Regions from separate parts of the Homo sapiens genome. Here region 2 is linked to region 1. The links are contacts of gene promoters, found by promoter capture Hi-C in blood cells and fetal thymus (Javierre and others, 2016). All regions are on one chromosome and are shown on one strand. The core of a region is centred on a gene start or on the middle of the fragment in contact, and the rest is flanking DNA. Distances in the headings are between cores, read along the strand shown. Region 1 holds the start of NRF1 (nuclear respiratory factor 1). Region 2 overlaps AHCYL2 (adenosylhomocysteinase like 2).

Region 1 (6,460 bases), core at 2,808-5,307:
AGAACAAGCTGGCTGGGCTGCCTCTGAGAAAGGCAAGGGCAGCCCTTGTTACCACTCAGAGTATGTTGAAGAACGGGAAAGACGCAGCACTTTCTGTTGAACGTGTTATCTTTTAAGGGCTCCATCCCAAGAAAATGTTATTCCATATTCTCCAATTTTAGTAAGATTTTCTTCCTTTGTGTGTGTTTGGTGGTGGGGAGATGAAATTTCTTCACCATCCTACCTCCACCTTGGGGGAAGGAAGAGGGTGGGGAGGGAGAAGCCTTGAGCGCCCTCTAGAGACCAGAAGCCCAACTCACTCCCTGGTGAATCTACACTCCTATGACCTTAGTGCTTAGCTCAAAATTGTCAACTGTCTATTGCCTACTAAGAACCAGTTCCTTGGCAGGCATGGTGGCTCAGGCCTGTAATCCCAGCACTTTGGGAGGCCGAGGTGGGTGGGTCACCTGAGGTCAGGGGTTCGAGACCAGCCTGGGCAACATGGTGAAACCCCGTCTCTACTAAAAACACAAAATTAGCCGGGCGTGGTGGCGCATGCCTGTAGTCCCAGCTATTTGAGAGGCTGAGGCAGGAGAATCGCTTGAACCCGGGAGGCGGAGGTTGCAGTGAGCCAAGATCGCACCATTGCACTCCAACCTGGGCAACAAGAGCGAAACCTCATCTCAAAAAAAAAACAAAAAAACACAATTTCTAAGGAGGCCATTAGAACCCTCTACAGTCTGGCTCAAGGCACCTTTTTTGGTCATTAGAATGACTTTAGGATAGTAGCAGATAGGGAAAGCACAGAAAAATGAATGCCAAATTTAATCATCCAGCGAACAGACTGGCTGGATCTAATCAAGAGGGGAAGGAACCTGGGTGAGGTTACCAGAATTTCACCTACTTCATAACCAAATCAACAGATCCAACAAGAATTAAATAAGGCATCACGGGAATCTAATCTGTAGGGAAGGGTGTGGGGAGACCCTTGTGGAAACAGCATCTATGTGAAAGGGACTTGATGTGTTCACAGTGGTAGCAGAAGAATCTCTGTGTCTTGACTCTTAGCCAAAAATCTCCAGCCAAAACACAGCCTCCCCTGTTCTCCTGCAAAGGTAAGCCCAGTCCGTTTGGGGCAGTAACCTCAGTTTGCTCAGAATGGTAAATGTCATTTAATCCTAAGAAGGTTCTGCATTAAAGATGAGGATAGTAAAATAAATCAGATCTGCAGTATTCATACTTTTGTGTTAACCTTGGTAATATTTTGTTTAATTTTGTATTTTCAATGTTTGTAAGATTTAGTATTTATCATATTAGAGAATCTGACAAGTTTCACGAAACAAGAGCCTTACTAAGTTTGATGTTCTCTGCCATTTTCTATTTCTTTAATGAAATGTTGGTAATGACCCACTAAGTTACTTATGTGTTTCATCAGTGGGTACTGGCCTGAGACCCTGATAATGGTTAAAAGTACAACTCTGAGGTCAGGCTGATGACTTTCAGATCTAGCTTATTGTCTGGGTTTGGGCAAGTAACCCCTATATGTCCTTGTTTCTTCATCTGTAAAATGGGATAATATTAGTAACTACCCAGGCCGGGCACAGTTGCACACCTGTAATCCCTGCACTTTAGGAGGCTAAGGTAGAACGGCTTGAGCCCAGGAGTTGGAGACCAGCCTGGGCAACAGGCATCTGCCTGTGGTCCCAGCTACTCAGGAGGCTGAGATGGGAGGATTGCTTGAGCCCAGGATGAGACTGCAGTGAGCTGTGTTTGCGCCACTGTATTCCAGTCTGGGAGATACAGTGAGACCCTGTCTCAAAAGTTAAAAAAAAGGTAGTACCTACCTTGTGGGCTCTACTTGATAATTAAATGAGAAAGAAGATAATGTGCATAAAGGCTTCCACTAGGGCCTGACGCATCGTGAGCGCTCAATAAACGTGGGGAGTACTGGGTGTGATGACAAAGGGTCTAATGCACCCAATCTTGGGAGATGAAAAAATGCTGCCTGGAGGCGATGGTATTAATGTTGGGATCTGAAAGAATGGTAAGAATTATTCAGGTGAGGATTCAAGTAAGTGCATAGATGGTGTAGAGAGAAATGAAGTTATGGGCAAAGGGAACAGCCCTTGCAACAGTTGTGAGGTGGCACAATTTCCAGGCTTAAATGACCTGAGAGCTTCCCAGTTTTGAGTGTAGCCTGAGAAATATCTGTGGCAGATGAGGTCAGAGATGGCAACAGGGATGAGATCACCAATGGCCCTGTAGCCACCTCAAAGAATTTTAGACTTTATCCTACGTGTTAATCAGATCTTTTTAAGAGTCTTAAACAGGGAAAAAACATGATTTTCTTTCTTGAAAGACCATTCAAGCTGTAGTGGATTTGGAGAGGGCAATTTCGGTGGCAGGGAGACCAAGAGGAGTCTACCGCAGTGTCTCTAGGAGAGATGACAGTAGCCTGAACCAGAGTAAGAACTGACAGGGAACAACAGTTTTAAAAATCTAATTGGGGCTGGGTGCAGTGGCTCACGGCTGTAATCCCAGCACTTTGGGAGGTTAAGGCAGGCAGATCACTTGAGCCTAGGAGTTCGAGACCAGCCCGGGCCAACAAGATGAAACCTCATCTCTACTAAAAATACAAAAATTAGCCGGGCGTGGTGGTGGGGACCTGTAGTCCCAGCTACTGGGGAGGCTGAGGTGGGAGGATCCTTGAGCCCAGAGAGGTCGAGGCTGCAGTGAACAATGATTGCACCACTGCCCTCCAGCCTAGGTAATAGAGTGAGAATCTGTCTCACAAACAAACACATCTAATTTAACATGGGGACTCCAGAGACAGAGGAAAGAGTAATGGATCATTTCCAGGTTTCTGGCTTGAGCACTTGGGTGGCTAGTGTTGGCACTCTCCTAGAAAACACTGGAGAAAAAGACATTCAATTTTTGGATATGTTGAATTTTGAGGTTAATAGAATCTTGAAAATTAAAGCTTCCTGATTTTGTTAATCCGTTTTCTGACACCCTTTAGCAATTCTTCAATGCAATGCTTTTCACATTATTATATGCATAAGAATCACCAGGGGTGTGGAGATGGGGATGTGAAAATGCAGGTTCCTAGGCAAACAAGCCAAGATTCTGGATACCAACTGGGTCCCAGGACTCAAAACAATCAGCCTGAGTAATTCTGATGGAGGGAGTCTCCTGACGACACTAAAAAAACAACAAAAACGACCCCTCTGCCGGGCATGGTGTCCTGTAATACCAGCACTTTGGGAGGCTGAGTCGGGAGGATCGCTTGGGCCCAGGAGTTCGAGACCAGCCTAGGCAACATAGGGTGACCACCCACCCCCGTTTCTAAAAGTAAAAAAAGACCCCTCGTGTGTCTCCACCGTTAGGTTGTTTTCCCACTGTCCACCCCTCCCTACTTCTCAGGCACCTGCTTGGGGGCCCCTATTGCTTCGAATAAGCTCCGTGGGAGCCAGGACTTTGTCTTGCTAACAGGTGCATCTTCAGCGCACTCAGAACAATATCTGGCACAGCACGAGACACCTAGAAATGTTCGCCGAACGATCGAATGGCTGAATACATTCATATGTTGCTTTGTACAAAAACTTGCTTTCAAATATCTGGGAAGAGTTAGAGATAGGAAAGCAGAGGTCATTTCAAAGAGAGAGAGTGAGGATACCACCGGGAAGGCAGCGCCGAAAAAACCAGAGGGGAACCACTTGCCGATCCCCCAGGCACAGTCTGGAGGTCCCAATTCCCGCGGTAGGGGGGCGAGAGATGCCACTCGTCTGATCAGCAACCATTTTGGGCCCGCTTGCGCCGCTTCTCCGGGGCGTCCGCGTTGTGCTCATCCAGTTGCTTTTGAGGTTCCGGCCCCCTCCAAACCTCTGAAGCGCTCCGTGCACGCGACGCGGCGGCGGGGTAAGCTGGAGCCCTCGCCGCGAGCCCTCTCCGCTGCCTGCCCGCAGCACAGCCGCGCCGACCTCCTCATCATGGCGGCGGCCGGGCGGGGAAGCCGGGCCGTGCGTCGCGTGCGTGCCCTCTCCCTCCCCTCCCCCTCCTCGGCGGCGGCGGCGGCGGCAGAAGCGGCAGCGCTCGCCATTGCCGCTGGTGGCAGGAGGCTGCGAGGAGCCGGCGCGGTCGCAGTCTCCACGGCGCAGGCCCACGGTAGCGCAGCCGCTCTGAGGTGAGTGCCCTACCGCGCAATCTCCAGCTATTTCAGCCCCGGCGCAGCCGCAACACGCCGCCCGCCCGCCGGCCGGCCGGCCCGCCCCGCAGCCGGCACCCTGCCGCCCCCGGCTCTGGGCCTGGGCCCCCGCCGGATTCGGCCCGCCTCGGGCGGGGGGCCCCGGCCCGGCCCAGCCAAACCGCCACCCCGAGGATGCGCAGGCCGCACTAGGCCCCAGGCGTCCTGGCGGGCTCGGGAGGGAGGCGCTGCCCTCCCGAGAGCCCCAGGGTTCCGGCCTCCTCCGCCGCCTGGGGCTCTCGGGGCCGCGGCCTTCTCCCCGCCGTGGAACCCGGGGCCCGGCCTTCCCGCAGCTCGGGAGCGGGAGGCGCGGGAGAGTGCGCCGGGCCCGGGAGCGGGAGGTGGGCGGGCTGCGCGGGACCGGAGCCGCGGCTCTCGGCTCGCCCCCTCGGCCCTTCCCGGCTCTCGTACGCGGGCGGGCGGGCGGGCGGCGCGGTGGGGCCGGGCTGGGGCGCGGGAGCCGCTGTCTCCTGCGGGAGAGGAGGCTGGCTCTTTGGGCGACCTCCGAAGCTTCCCTCCTGCCGGGGTGGCGTGGGCTTGTTACCCAGGTAGACTGGGGGACGCTGGAATATGGCGCGTTGCCCACCTTCTTGCAAGTTAGGAGGTGGCCGGGGCGGCAGTTCGAGGAGGAGGGCGCAAAGTCCTTTTGTACGCAGAAATAAGGAGCGACATTGTGTTTTCTTCCCCAGCTGAGATGTGCCCGCGGAGGGGCCGCGGTTCTTCCTGTGCCTGGGGTGGTGGTCCCCTGGGTGAGGGAGAGGGGGAGTGGCACGCCCCTCCGAAGGAACAGAACCTTTTGCCACTGGAAAGACAGGGGCTCTGAGATGGCCGTGTGCATGGTATTTTCCCATATCCCCAGACCTTTTCGGGTTTGTCATTGAATGTTGTGCACTCCATCGTGCAATGATGTCTGCTGCCTCTCTCACCTGTTGTGTCGTGGCTGCTGGTCCCAAAGTTTCTGCAGTGTATTTGGCTGTGCCCACCAGAACTTGAAGTTGTTTAAAAATCTTAATACTTGGGGGGCTTCCAGTGATATCTGCTCCAACCAGTTGGAGGAGCTGTTGCCTGCTCTCCATTCTTCTTAAGCATTAGATTAGAATATATTAATTGCTTATTTTAGAGCTGGTGTCAATCGTGCTGATTTCTTTATGTGGTCAGAGCAAAATTCACATTTTTTTAAGTGTTCAGAGACTGCGTATTGAGAGACGCATAAGGAGAAAGGTAGTGTGAGTGAGCCTGTCAGCTTGGGCAGTGTTGGGCAGAGCTTTTGTCCCGGGACATCATCTGTGCTCACAGTGATCCTTTTTCCCATTCCATCTCAGCCTAGCCTTTTAAAAAATTATTTTTCCTTTGGGCTTGACCAGTAAGTAATTGGGAAAGGGGGGTGCTGGAGTCTTGGAGATGCTGTTTGTGTGTGTGTGTGTGTTTGATTCATTAGTATCCCGACTCCCTAAAATTGTATTTGACAGTTCTTGACAGGTTACCCCGTAAGACAGTGAAAATATGACTAGTTCTCTCCGTGCATCTGAGTGTAATTTCCTTATTTTATGAGTCCGAAAGCAGACATAATTATCACATGCAATGTAGAATATTTATTCTTAACTTGGATCCTAAATTGTGGGCAGAATTTTTTTGTGTCAAGGGGTTTTTTTTTCTTTTGATAGGACTTAGTGGCTTTCAACAGGGCCCATGACCAAAAAAAACAATAATCAGATTAAGAAAACTCTTTACGGCCGGGTGCGGTGGCTCACACCTGTAATCCCAGCACTTTGGGAGGCCGAGGCGGGGTGGATCACCTGAGGTCAGGAGTTCGAGACCAGCCTGGCCAACATGGTGAAAGCCCATCTCTGTTAAAAATACAAAAATTAGCTGGGCGTGGTGGCAGGCGCCAGTAATCCCAGCTGCTGGGAGGGGCGGGGGCGGGGGCTGCCGAGGCAAGAGAATCGCTTGAACCTGGGAGGCAGAAGTTGCAGTGAGCCGAGATGGAGATCGCGCCATTGCACTCCAGCCCGGGGGACAAGAGCGAGACTTCATCTAAAAAAACAAAAACAAAAACTCTACTTAATCTTTTGGCCCATCCTTATTTGAAGTCCTTTAATTTCCTCACACAGCCTCAAACTCGACATATAGGAGGGAAAATGACTTTTTGCTTAGTAGTCAGTGGTCATAGTCTCCTGTAACAAAGAAAAGTTCTTATCCCCAAGTCGGCAATTTTTGTGGAAATAGTTCTCTTTTTCT
Region 2 (6,460 bases), core at 1,985-4,484, 240 kb before region 1:
TTTTGCCAAGATTGAGGATGTGCACTCATGACACAGCCTCAGGAGGTCCTGATGACATGTGCCCAAGGTGGTCAGAACACAGTTTGGTTTTATACATTTTAAGGGGACATGAGACATCAATCAACATATGTATGATGAACACTGGTTCAGTTTGGAAAGGCGAGACATCTGGAAGCAGGGAGGGGGCTTCCAGGTCATGGGTAGATAAGAGACAAATGGTTGCATTCTTTTGAGTTTTTGATTGGCCTCTTCAAAGTAGGCAATCAGATGTGCATTTATCTCAGTGAGCAGAGGGGTGATTTTGAATAGAATCGGAGGCAGGTTTGCCCTAAGCAGTTCCAGCTTGACTTTTCCCTTTGGCTTAGTGATTTTGGGGGCCCAAGATGTTTTCCTTTCACAGAGCCTATAATCATAATTATAATATTGTCACTGTTAGCTGTAGAGAAACTATCCTCTTCAATGGGAATTAACACTGTAAAGAGTCCTGGTCCTTAAAGGGACCAAAGCAGGCATATCTTGTTAGGCTTCCTTTGTGCCTGAAACCTGTGGTACTCTTATTGGATAATATACTCTAGGAATGAACTAAGCAGGTGAGATAGGCTAGCTTACCTTTTTTCTAGTTATGTCTTATTTCCAAAATTCTGAAGTGTGCAGCAAGGAGGGAGTTGGTATGGAGAGATAAAGCAGAAACAACTTCGGAGGTCCTTTAAGGTGATAGTGTACAGGGCTACTGCACTGGCATCCTGTTTCTTCCTGAAACCAGATCTGTGTGTAAAATCCAGCATTGGTTAGGGACTTTGAGGCAGCACTAGTCTTGGTTGGAAACCCTGGCTGTCCTCTAAACCTACACTGTGGTGGCTTCTGACTAGCCTCAGTGAAGTCACTTTGCAATCAGCACCTGTGTGTCTGTAGCTGCGGGCCCTGAGGCCTTCGTGTATGTAGCACAGGGAGCCAGCAGAGGGAGCTGTCGTCCCAGAACTTTCTTAGAGCTGCTAAGAAATTCTGATTTTGAAAAAGATCTTCCTAGGCTCCATCCGAACCTCCCATGCAATAAGACTCTAACTTGAGATATGCGAGAGTTTGGTGCCAGACCCCTGGTGTGAGCAGATGGGGAGCTTCTGCATAGCTGTTTAAACTTGAAAGCCCTAGGAGCTCTTGATTTCAAGGAAACGCCTGTTTACTGATCCAAATCAAGCAACTCTTGAGAAATGGGAGTGCCTTCCTGACCTCAGTCTTTATTGATCTTGGTATCCGCACCTCCAGTGACGTGTCCTGAAGGGTGGGAGAGAATTCACAAGTGCCTCACACACAGGGAAAGAAGGAAGTCCAACTATTGCTGCAGAAAGTCCCCACTGGGGAGGTGCGGGTAGAGTGTTTGGGTAGCATTAAAACAGTGAGTGCCCTGTGAGAAGCACAGTGCCTGGGTGCAGCACTTTGCATCAGCTCTGATTTTGAAATCAGACACAGAAGGCTTTGAAGCCGGCCAGTAAGGGGTTGTCAGGCAGTTGACTAATGCTCTTGATTTGAATCGGAGGCTGCTGTGAAAAGGGATGCAGCTTCTGCTAGCCACTGTGAACTTCTGAATCTCACTAGGGTTGGGTCTGCTTTGGGGCACTCAGATAACCCCAGTATTTCCAAACCAGCTTTCCCTTTTGCTTCAGGACATATCTTACCCAAGCCTGCACTATGGAGAAGTGGGACGGTAATGAGGGCACCTCAGCTTTTCACATGCCTGAGTGGATGGTGAGTTCACTGGTCGTTTTGTTTCTCCTTCTGTTTCTTGATAATGAGAGGCAACCATTTCTGACGGGTGACAAGGATCACCTCTGAGAAGCTCCTACCAAGATCCGTGGTTGGAAAAACAGTTATTACTCTACGTTCTGATTAGTTCCTAGGTACTAGGTCACCACTGTTTCTTAATTATCCACGAAGCTGGGAAAGGTGTGAGAGTTGCCTGGCCAGGGCTTGTTGCCTGGTCATCTCTGGTGGGCAGGGGCTTTCCTCCGGCTGCTGGTGTGATGTATGGGTTGTGTTTCCTGTGACTGTTTTGCACTTCTGTTTTCAACCTGATGCTTCATTTGTTTCTCTGGGGGTAAAGAAAAAGAACAATGAGGAGAAAAAACAAAAACAGAACTTACAGAAATGGTGCTCTCTGAAGTCTGCAAAGATTGCAAACATTTCTCCCCTCCCTGCCCGTATTTTTCCCTTCAGTCACAACATTTCCCTATTTCCCCCCCAGCTATCCTTTATATATATATTTCTCTATGGCAGGAACTGCAGCTCTCTTGGTACAGTTCTTCAGAATACCATGTTTGCCTGATCAGTAGTTTTACTAAAATGATAATAAGGACTTATTTGTTGATAAGAACTAGCATATAAACCTATTATATTGGATCGAATTTCAACTTTTAAAGACAATAACCATCCTTATGTTTCTAAATAGTTTCTTCTAGATTTAGCCTGATTTCTTACAGCCCACACAGGTTTATGTTTACAGATTTGTGTTTCCCCACTATGGAAAACTAGTTAGACTCTCTAAAACATATTTCAAGTTCTTTTTAGTGTTTATAGAATTATGGATTTGAAGAAATAACTATTGATAATGAGATAGAATATATAGTAGGCCTAACAAAGGCCCCCTGAGGAACTTACATTTCAACTCATTGTTACAACTATTTTTTATTGTTTTGGGGGAGGTTATTGCTGTTCTTCTTAATGTCGTTTCAGAACATTGTGTTCAGGTTTTTTTTTTTTTTTTTTTTGAAATGGAGTCTGGCTCTGTTGTCCAGGCTGGAGTGCAGTGGCGTGATCTCAGCTCACTGCAACCTCCGCTTCCTGGGTTCAAGTGATTCTCCTGTCTCAGCCTCCCAAGTAGCTGGGATTACAGGTGTGCACCACCATACCGGGTAATTTTTGTATTTTTGGTGGAGATGGGGTTTCACCATGTTGGCCAGGCTGGTCTTGAACTCCTGACCGTAGGTGATCCACCCAACTCGGCCTCCCACAGTGCTGGGATTACAGGTGTGAGCCACCACGCTCAGTCTTGTGTTCAATTTTAAAACATTTTGTGGAAAGAAAACCTATCCATCTACAAGCTTATTCCAAGTAACATAGTGTTTTAGAATTAATGGAAGGATTTATGTAATACTTCTGATTGGGTTGAGTTTTTTTGAATTTCTTGCTACTCACTAATAACAAGAAGAGGGAAAAAGAAATTTGGTTTTCTTAAGGGAAGGGCCACGTTAAGGTATCAAACTTTGGTATTTCTATAAAGGAATATTACAGAAGAATTCTACTGAACATTAGTGTGCCAACTCAGAATCAATCAAAGTTTTATAATAATTCTTATTTCTGTCATAGTCCTCACCGTCTTACAAGCTTAGCACATCCCCTCAAAGTTCAGTAGTGGCTCCTGCTGAACTTTCACCCATTTACCTTCTTTCTAGTTAATGTGAATGGGAAGACTGCCCTAAAGGAGTTGGTGTGACCACTGCATAAGGGATATGATCTAGGGCTTCCCAGCTTTTAGAAAACACTCTTTATTTAATAAAACACAGCTCTTTAGTGTTGTGTCTTGGTTGGTAAAAAATAAATAAAAAAATTTGCAGCCGGGTGCGGTGGCTCACGCCTGTAATCCCAGCACTTTGGGGGAGGCCAGGGCGGGCAGATCACGAGGTCAGGAGATCAAGATCATCCTGGCTAACACAGTGAAACCCGGTCTCTACTAAAAATACAAAAAATTAGCCGGGCGTGGTGGCGGGCGCCTATAGTCCCAGCTACTCTGGAGGCTGAGGCAGGAGAATAGCATGAACCCGGGAGGCAGAGCTTACAGTGAGCTGAGATCGCGCCACTGCACTCCAGCCTGGGCGACAGGGTGAGACTCCGTCTCAAAACAAACAAACAAAATAATAATTTAGAAAAGCACAGCTCTGCTCTGTTCTGTTTTTAATAAGGTATTACTCTCACTTAGGAATTTCTCAGCCATTCTCTCTTAAATAGCAGGAAAATACCTTTGCTCAGTATTTTGAACAGCAATAAAAAGGAATAGGGAGGAGCTAGTCTTCAATAACACGATTGTCTCATTTGCTAGCTTTTCTTTGCCAAAGACTTTTGAGGCTTTCTTTCAGATACCACGTAAGTCATTGACTCCTGACTTGGTCTGAAAGTACTTCATTAGGTTGCTACTGATAGCCACTTAGCCAAGAAAGCTAACCTCTGAGCACCCTCTAGTGTATTGCCGATGGATTTCCAGACCTTACTTGTAAAATGTTAAAGTGTCTTTTAATCCCCAAGAAAAAAACCGTTGCTCCAGCTCCCATGTTGGGCCAAAGTTTCAATTTAAAGTTTTAACGAGTGTCTTACTCATGTTCCCATTTACATATTAGTGTAATGAAATTTCCACTGAAACTATCCCTGCCACCAAAGGAAATATGAGAAGTCTCTCAAATCTTCTTTCAGGAGAAAAATTTAGCAGAGAAGGTATATTACAACATCTCCCTTTTGTTAAAAATCACCAGCAAAAAGGGACTTCATATCCCTCAGAGAATAGGACTCACACCACATATAACAGCTGACAGTACTCACATCTCTGATTTCCAGCAGGGAAATAAGCCGGGATGAAGCCTGAAGAACCCCAATCTCAAGAACTGACGAGGTAGACTTTCAAGGTTACGTTCCATCAATCACTGGAAAACTTCTCCTGGAGCCTCTGCTCCTCAGCTGTTTTCATGTGAAGGATTTTCTTAGCCCTGTTCAGACAGCTTTACTGCTGAAAGGTTGGGGAACACTTCCTTTTAAAGACTGTCTTTATTAATGTGTTTTACTTCCCCTGAGAGATCTTTAGTCCCTTCTGGTAGTAACCTCGACTGACATGCATGGAGATCAGCAATAACTTTTTCTGTGTTTCAACATTTTAATATTTCCTCCTCCTCCCACTCCAGCTCTCTGTACTTTTCCATAGGAAATCTGGTTGATTGACTTTCATGAGTATCCAGCCAGCTTGATGCCCGATATTCTTTTGGCAAGAAGTAATCCTTTTCATAGGTAAAGAGTTAGTTCAAGCCGCTCATTTGGCTTGGAAGAGAGAGGTGTTTTGAGGAATATCTGAACCATATCTACTTGGAAGTAGAGACAAAAATCTCCAAAGTGTCTGATAAATGGTGGTAGAGGTAGCTTGACTATCACTCTAGGTCAGGATTGGTGCTTAAAACAGAAAGCCATTTGAAAAACTGATGAAAACTATGGGCTCTCTCCCCAGGATATTAAAAACACAAAATTTTGCATACTGTTGTAGGGGGTTCTAGACATCCATGGAATATAGGTTAAGAACACTTAATTTGAAAGAATAGAAATATTAATATTTTAGACTTGCATATCAATATGTAGTTTTCAAAACCCTCTCACATCTTATTATCTCAGCATACATTTTAAATAGGCAAAGTAGATATGATTATCCCTATTTTAGAAATGATGACAGACCTTAGGAAGTAGAGACACAGATACATCCTTTGTAGTATTACTTTATGTACTTGAAAAGGAATTAATTGGTTTCTCTTGGCCTTGATCCTCTTTAGGATAAATAGATCTTCTGTCCTCCCCATGAGTCCTGTTTTTCTTAATATATTACCTGTCTCTTCTTAAGAGCCTTAAGTTACGGAAAGCAGAATTAGACCCAGTTTTCTTTAGACCCTGTTTTGGGTGTAAAGAAAGATCACCTCAGCTGGGCGTGGTGCCTCATGCCTGTAATCCCAGCACTTTGGGAGGCCAAGGTGGATGGATCACCTGAGGTCAGGAGTTCGAGACCAGCCTGCCCAACATGGCGAAACCCCATCTCTACTAAAAAGTACAAAAAAAAATAAGCCAGGCATGGTTGGTGTGCTCCTGTAATCGCAGCTACTCAGGAGGCTGAGGCAAGAGAATCACTTGAACTCTGAGAGGTGGAGGTTGCAGTGAGCCGAGATGGCACCATTGCACCCCAGCCTGGGAGACAAGAGCAAAACACCATCCCCCCAAAAAAAAGAAAGAAAAGAAAGGATCACCTCATTGTATTCTCTGACCTTTCAAATAACCTTTACTTTTCTGCCTGTGAACGTGCCTCCATGGTTATAGCCATGATAGGATAGAATGGTTGGTTAAGTAGAGTCAAGAGAATCAGGGCTGCTTTACTCACGCTTGGAGAAAGTGTTAGAGCAGTGGTTTCCAAAGTGTGGTCTTCAGACTGGTAGCATCAGCGTCTCCCGGGGAGTTACTCAAAACACAAAATCTTCAACCAGAGAATTGGAAGCTGAAAAAAATTTTTTTTTTTAAATTACAAAATACAAAATCTTGGGCCCTCTCCAGACCTAATAATTCAAAAACTCTGGTGGTTAAGATCCAGCAATGTGCTTTAATAAGCTCTCCAGGTGATTTTGATGCAGCTAAAATTTGAAAGTTACTGTGTTCTATAAAAACTTATTGGCTG

The links. Contacts are between HindIII fragments. The CHiCAGO score rates a contact against its expected background, and 5 or more counts as called.
Region 2: a contact is called between a fragment that was not itself captured here and the fragment with the promoter of NRF1 in region 1, in 3 of 17 cell types (endothelial precursors, megakaryocytes and erythroblasts). The highest score is 6.5, in endothelial precursors.

The regions. Positions count from the first base shown.
Region 1 is chr7:129,607,663-129,614,122 of GRCh38, forward strand. It overlaps NRF1 (nuclear respiratory factor 1), which reads left to right and starts at 4,058. Exons shown (of 11, transcript NM_005011.5): 1 at 4,058-4,162. RefSeq lists enhancers at 3,476-3,525, 5,206-5,345 and a silencer at 3,916-4,905. The HindIII fragment of the contact is 1,773 bases long and covers 2,958-4,730 here.
Region 2 is chr7:129,366,809-129,373,268 of GRCh38, forward strand. All of the region lies in intron 1 of AHCYL2 (adenosylhomocysteinase like 2), which reads left to right. It overlaps LOC107986847 (a long non-coding RNA gene), which reads right to left. Exons shown (of 3, transcript XR_007060518.1): 2 at 4,585-6,283; 3 at 1,216-2,086. Among named protein-coding and RNA genes, the nearest start is that of STRIP2, 64 kb to the right of the region's middle. The HindIII fragment of the contact is 283 bases long and covers 3,094-3,376 here.